Linked DNA regions of Homo sapiens: region 2 is linked to region 1. Evidence: promoter capture Hi-C in human tissues and cell types (Jung and others, 2019). All regions are on one chromosome and are shown on one strand. Each heading gives the region's core, a stretch centred on a gene start or on the middle of the fragment in contact. The rest is flanking DNA. Distances are from core to core; before and after follow the strand shown. Region 1 holds the start of PTK2 (protein tyrosine kinase 2). Region 2 overlaps DENND3 (DENN domain containing 3).

Evidence for each region. Contacts are between HindIII fragments. The study calls those that stand out against the background at their distance.
Region 2: a fragment that was not itself captured here is called in contact with the fragment with the promoter of PTK2 in region 1 in 1 of the 25 tissues and cell types used here (heart right ventricle).

What each region holds. Positions count from the first base shown.
Region 1 is chr8:140,999,515-141,003,000 of GRCh38, forward strand. PTK2 (protein tyrosine kinase 2) reads right to left here and starts at 1,768. Exons shown (of 36, transcript NM_001352702.2): 1 at 1,611-1,768. RefSeq lists silencers at 1,433-1,762, 1,783-2,202. The HindIII fragment of the contact is 8,254 bases long and covers 1-3,242 here.
Region 2 is chr8:141,157,112-141,160,597 of GRCh38, forward strand. All of the region lies in intron 8 of DENND3 (DENN domain containing 3), which reads left to right. Among named protein-coding and RNA genes, the nearest start is that of DENND3-AS1, 29 kb to the left of the region's middle. RefSeq lists enhancers at 1-664, 1,455-1,574. The HindIII fragment of the contact is 8,395 bases long and covers 1-3,486 here.

The sequences.
Region 1 (3,486 bases), core at 518-3,017:
TGTTCCTTGTTTGAATATCATAGGGCTTTTCTAATTAATTGGCTAGTATAACTGGATGAAAATATTATCTATACTGTACCCCAACAAAAATACGTTGAATGCTAGTTTACTTTTATGTGTCTTGTAACTAGTTCATCCGTGTGCTTGCATCGCACTGCTCATAAGTTTTCAAATATGGGACGGAGTGCTCAACTCTCGAAGACATCATTTTCATTACCCGTTTCCCAAATAAAATATTAAGGTTGAGGCTCTGGTATTTCATTTCAAATAGTACTGGTCTGTTTTTCCAGCCATGAAAACGTTTACATTCTAAGTAAAAATCCTAGCGATGGTTAAGTCTTAAATACAAATCCCCAAACTCTTGCACTGCCTTCAGCTTTCAGCTTGAATGTATAACCAGTTCCCATAATTACTACAATATTACTATTATCTTAGTCTCATTGCCAAAAACCCAGCTGCAGGCTAACTATGCAAGAATGAGACACTGTTGAAATGACTCGGAAAAAAAAAAAAAAAGAAACTTTACCCTCACTGAATTTAGCTACAAAATTCTGCAATTAAATGAAACCAATTCACACACACACACACACACACACACACACACACACACACCCCTTCTTCTAAGAAAGAACAGGATGCCGCTACACAAGGAACCCAGAGAGAAATTCGGCAAACAGTTGCGCCTAAGCCACCGCGGCAGAGTCGGGGGCTGGGGGCGGGGAAGAGGAGAAAACTTGGGAAGCACAATGACTCCAGTGAGGACTTCAGTGAGGGCTCCAGGGCTCCCGCCAAGAAGCCCACGGGGCTCTACCAAACTTGAGGGTTTGCGTTCGGGGACACGGCGGGCTTGGGGCTCGGGCACCGGCAGGCCGCTCGGAGCCCACCCTTGGCTGCCCGCGAGGCCGCGCCCGGGGGACGGAGGTCGGGCCGTCGCGAGCCTCCCTCTCGCGTCCGGGCGAACCCTGCCGACGTCCCTGCGATTTCCCTCTTCCTCCTCCTGCCTCTCCCCTTTTGTTTTTCAGGCATTGGGTCCGCTCCGGCGGAGGCCGGCCCGTCCTCCCCGCGCCTCTGTCCGCCCTGCGCGCCCCCAGAGCCCCGGCCTCCTCGTCTTCCTCAGGCCCCTCGGCCTCTCCGCGCGCCCGGCCTTTTCGAAAGCCGCCCCCCCCTTCCTCCTCACGTCTCCCGGACTCCCCACGTCCCCCAGCCTTTCTGTCTTCCCCGAACCCCTTGGCCTCCCCGCGCGCCCCCAAAACCCCCGACCTCCTCGAGCTCCCGGCCTCCCCACGTCCCTCAGCCTCCCAGTCTTCCCCAAGCCTCCCGACCACCCAGCGCCCCGAACCCCCGCCTCCCAGCGCGCCCCCTGACCTCCTTAAGCCTCTCGGCCTCCGCGAGGGCCCCCAACCTCCTCACGGCCACCGGCCTCCCCTCCTCCCAGAACCCGGGCCGGGGGCGCGGGAGGGGCCGGTCTCCGCCGCATCCGCCCCGGGACTGGTTGGGCGGCCCCGCTCTGCCCCTCCGCCCTCAGGGCCGCGGCCCAGCCCACGACCGCTGCACAGAAGGAGCCCGCCCAGCCCCCGACCCGCGCCCCGCGCCCGGCGCCCCGCACTCACTCGGACCGCGGCTCGGCGCCGTGAAGCGAAGGCAGACGACGACGGGGCGGCGCTGGGCGACAGCAGCCGCGCTTCCTCCCACGCCTCACGCCGCGGGCTCACAGTGGTCCGGGACCGGCGGCGGCGGCGGCGGCGCGGGCTCGCGCCCTCGAGGCCGTGCTGCGTCGGCGCGGGCCCGCGCGCGTGCGCGGCAGCCGGCTGAGGCGCGCGTCCTCTCTCGGCAGCGCACGCCCGACCCGGTCTCAGTCCGGAGTTCCCGCCTCTCGGGGGGACTGGGCATGCGCGCCGCCCCCGCGCATGCCCAGCGCGCCGCTAGGCTCTGCTCGCGTAATTTGTCCTGTAGTGACCGCGCCGGGGTTTCGGGGTGGCCCGAGGCTGCGCGCGGGCGTGGCGGCCGGACGAGGAAAGCCCTGGTCTCGGGGGTGGCCGGGGTCGCCCCGCCGAGCGGACATCCTGGGGTCCCACCTGCCTCGCTCTCCGCCAGCGGGATTAGACGGACTTCGGGAAAGTCCTCCCCATCTCCTTCCCTGCCCCCAAATCCCGAAGGGGTCCCCTCTGGAGAACCTCCCTCCTGAGCGGCCCTGCGGCCCCGCCCCCAGAGTTGGACGCCCGCTGTCGGGCACCCGCTGCGGGCCCCGGGCCTTGCAGTGCACTCTCCAGGCACCACACCGACCCTAACGAGCGGTTCCTGGGCCCTTTTTGCAGACAAGGAAACTGAGGCTCAGAGATTCTTTTCATGGCATTATAGCTAAGTTGGGCTGGGCCATTATTTGATTTTGGAAGATGAAAAATCATGAAAGGGACTTAGAAGTCCACTGGAGGTAGACAGGTTACCTAAATGAACGCCAGCAGGGAACGAGCCCTGCAATCCCTCCCGAGGGCTACAGACCTGAGACGGGCTCCAGGAAAAGGAGGGAAGGCTCGCCCCGACACCGACCCGGGCTTCCGCGGTGTGAGCCAGTTTCAGCGAGGAGCTAGTTGGTTATGACCGGAACGTGCCGTAGGTGGGGTGGGGGAAATAGCAAAAGGCGAGGTTGGAGGGATTGAAAAATGCAGACGGCTGCGTGGGGCTTGCTTAGGTGCCTGGAGTTTATTCTTTAGGCAACAGGGAACCTTTGGAGGGCTTTAAGCAGGAAGTGATAACTGATTTGTGTTATTTAAAAAAAAAAAAAAGTCACTCTGGCAACCTTGTGGTCGGAAATGAAACCAGAAGAACCCTCAAGGCTGCAACTTTCATTTTTATGGTGTCATTTTGATGCTAACCACAAGCCAGGAAGCAGGACAGACAGGCACCGAGGCCTTTTGAAAGGTGAACACCCTGAAGCCCAGAGAGGTGACACACGTCATTGCATTAGGAGCTTTTATAAAAGTAAAAATGAAGTAAAATAAAAAGCTTTTGCTTATCAAGATTTTACCATATTTAAATGTTTGGGTTGTATTGTTCTTTAATGAGATGTATTAAGGTTGGTGTTTTTCTGGGTTTTGTTACTTTTTACTACATATGAAATTGTAAGGAATTGCCTCTCCATGCCAGCCTCAGGCCTTTGCGCGTGCTATTTGCTCTGCCTGGAACTTCTTGCTCCTCACTTCGTTCAATACCCTGCTTATATATCACCTCATTGATACAGCCGACCACTTCATATAATAGGAACCACCCACTGCCCTGCTATCCTCACACACAGTCCGCACTTAGTCTGCTCTGTTGTTCTCCAAAGCACCTATTGTTCACCATAGCCCAACACTGTGTTCTTGTTTATTTCTTGATTGTCCGCTCTCTCCACTAGAATCTTAGATTCATTAGAGCACGGGCTTTGTTTTGTTCACTAATAGGTCCTGGCACACAGTAAGTATTTGTCAAGTGAATGAACGAAGCTTT
Region 2 (3,486 bases), core at 367-2,866, 160 kb after region 1:
GTTTATGTTTTCTTTCATCTCTGTTACTCAACCTCATTGGCTTAGATCAGGCGTCAGCAAACTTTTTCCAACAAGTGTCAAATAATATTTCATGCTTTGGGGCTCTGAGGTCTCTGTCGAGGTGCAAAGGCTTGGCAGGGACTTTGGTCAGGGGAGGGTGAGAGGAGGTGTAATTGCTAATTACGTCAGGACGGAGGTGTTGGGTGTGCCCCAAGCAGTGACTCAGCTTCAGTGCCAGGGCTCCCTCGGGGTTGCTCTGCGGAGCTCATTTTTCCCTTCAGCATTTTATAAAATGATAGCAGGAGGAGAGATCCTGCTCTTGAGTCCTCACAACCTGTGGGTCCAACTGCAGCCAGGCCCTGAGTGCGGTCGTGGAGGTGACGCTGGAGGGAGGGGAGCGCTTAGGCTTTTTGCAAACAGCCGGGCTGTACTTGCTTCTGGTGAAGCCTGTGATGCAGTCTGGATTTCAGTCAGCCATCACCTTTCTTCTCTTCGCCTTCCTTTGTCTGCATTGGGAGGAGTGGGAAGGAGGAGGGCGGTTTCTGGCCTGGCCTTTCACCTGGCTTTTCTGATTTCTGACTCTTACCTTGGTGTGGATTATTCCTTCTACCTGGAAGGTTTCTGAAAAATGTTTAGGAAAACTACCTCTTTTTTTTTTTTTTTTTGGAGACAGGGTCTTGCTCTGTCACCCAGGCTGGGGTGCAGTGGCGTGATCTTGGCTCACTGCAACCTCCGCCTTCCAGGTTCAAGCGATTCTCCTGCCTCAGCCTCCGGAGTAGCCGGGATTACAGGCATCTGTGACCATGCCCGACTAATTTTTGTGTTTTCAGTAGAGACAGGGTTTCACCATGTTGGCCAGGCTGGTCTCGAACTCCTGACCTCAGGTGATCCACCTGCCTGGGCCTCCCAGAGTGCTCAGATTACAGGCGTGAGCCACCGCGCCCAGTCGGAGAACTACCTTTATTATTGTTCTTGCATCTTAAAAAATTCCCTAAGGCCTTAAAGCCAAGCGATGGTCCTGCACAGGCAAGGCTGGTTTCTGCTTGCTTGGGCTGTGGAATCGCTGGGCTCTCCTCCCCAGCCAAGGGCACCTGAGCAGCTGTTCTGTTGGCAACTGTCCTCTGCGCGAACTTTGAAGGAGACACGTGCTTTCCCAATCATCTCAGTTACTTTCTGGTAAGCCACAGCTGCTTCCTTGACTTTTAGAGCGTGACATTCTGTAATAGAACTGAGCTTTGTGAGACTGTGTTGAAGCTCTGAGCATTCCCAGGAAGGTAGGATTCTGCCTGCATCCTCATCTTCTTGTTAGAATTCCGGAATAGAAACACACACGATACGGAGGCTGGGCCCCGCTTTGGCTAGATCCCCCAGAATGGGGATGCAGGATGTCGTGTCTCCCACAGCCTCATTTTTGGAGACTCTTTTGTAAACACAAGCTAATCCCTGTGCCATGGGTGACCTGTCTATAAGAGGCCTCTGAGCTCATGATACAGGTTGTGGGCTGCGGTGTCGTTGGGGTGCCTGCTCAAGGGGCTCTGGAGTACAATATGCATCTCTCTGCACGTGAGCGTGTGGCTGGGAGGGACGGGGCAGCCCCCTCCTTGCCCAGCTTTCCCCAGCACCCTTGGCTCTTGGTCACTCTCTTCACTGCTGTCTTCATCTCTGATGGAAGTCGCTCTCTCCCTGGGCAGCAGGGGTAGGGTCGCCAGCTCAGGGCTATGCTGGCTGCGTGCTTGGGTGAGGGAGGCATGGGGTTCCGGGAGAGGGGATGGCCATCTCCTTCAGACCCCACTGTCCCTGCACCAGAAGATGCAGTAAGAGAAGCTGCCACTCCAGGTGGCATCATAGCCCTTTTTACATGAGGAAAGTCATCAAAATTTCTTTCCCTGGCATTCTGCGTGTTCTTTCAGATGAAAGGCCAGTTTGGTGCTGGTAAACATCACAGTTCTTGAGACCCATCTAGGCAAGGGTAGTTGCCCAAGTCCTGTGAGTCTGGTCAGCCAGGGCTGGGCTGGCCCCTCAGCAGCTGCTGCTCAGCACGTTTGGAGAGAACCCTGGTCCTGGCCCTGGCACCGCGTGCCTGCCTGCTACCATCCCCTGGTGGGCCACTCCACCCAGAATCCCGTTCTTCCCTTTTCCTGTCCCTGCCTCCAGGAGGGTCAGGCAGCGGCAGGGGCCTGTGGCCAGTGCACCCTTCCCATCACAGAGAAGATTGGCTCCTGCCGGCCATGCTGACCTGGCCCACACTCCCACTCCCCCTACCATGCTGGGCCGCACTGGGTCCATCAAGTCCCCCGTCTGTGTCTTCCTGTCACATCTCCGGTTCCAGGTCGTCTCCTGGGAGAACTCTTCTCTGCCCGCTCAGTCTGACTGCCGTGTCTCTCTAGCCCATCGCTGTGATGTGCGTTTCTGCCTGATGTCCTCATTATCTCCTGTTTTCTTGATTTGTCTCTTTTCCTACTTCCTCCCACTCACATGGAAGTGCCACGCAGGCAGGGGCTTGGCCTGTGTCCACCACCCATCCCTAGCACACAGATCAGTGTATGGCATACAGTAGGTGCTCAAGAAATATGTGTGACCAGATATGCGTTGGTTCTGTTTATTTTGTATATTTCTAACGTCCCTCTAGACATGCAGCCTTTAGTGGTGTTGGGAAGGCCAGGGGTCCAATCTCATGGTGGCTCAGGGTTGACAGATATCTGTGAGTTCCTGTCCCTGAGTGAGGCCCTCTGGGGTGAGCCTTTGGCCATCTCCTGGTGGGCCAAGAGTGGTGACACCCGGGACGTTTGTTGCAGGGCACAGAGGGGCATCTGATCCTGCCTGGGCAGGAAGTACAGAGGGGAAGCCATGGGGGAGCTGTGACTGTCCCTTCTAGGCAGCCATGAGTGACCCGTCAAGAGGCAGCCTGACCTGGAAGCCTTTGGTGACCTAGAAGGGGGAGTGCCCTCACTGCAGTGGCAGGACAGGAATGAGCTGGCCTGGGTGAAGTGTGCATAGTCCAAGTCGAGGCCCATGTGAGTCCATGTGTGGAGGTGAATCCACTCTTCCAGTCTTCCAGCGATGTATTTTTTTTTTTTTTTTTTTAAGACAGAGTTTCGCTCCTGTTGCCTAGGCTAGAGTGCAGCGGCACTATCTCGGCTCACTACAACCTCCACCTCCCAGGTTCAAGCGATTCTCCTGGCTCAGCCTCCCGAGTAGCTGGGATTACAGGTGCCTGCCACCATGCCTGGCTAATTTTTGTATTTTTAGTAGAGAATGGGTTTCACCATGTTGGCCAGGCTGGTCTTGAACTCCCTGACCTCAGGTGATCCACCCACCTCGGCCTCCCAAAGTGCTGGGATTACAGGCGTGAGCCACCGCGTCCAGCCCCAGTGATGTACTTTAATGACCACCCGCCCCTCAAATTATTGATCGGTATTTGTGTCTGTGAAGTGTTCATTTACCTGGTGGGCTGTGTGCTGGTGAGCGGCCGTGGCCAGTGCTGCT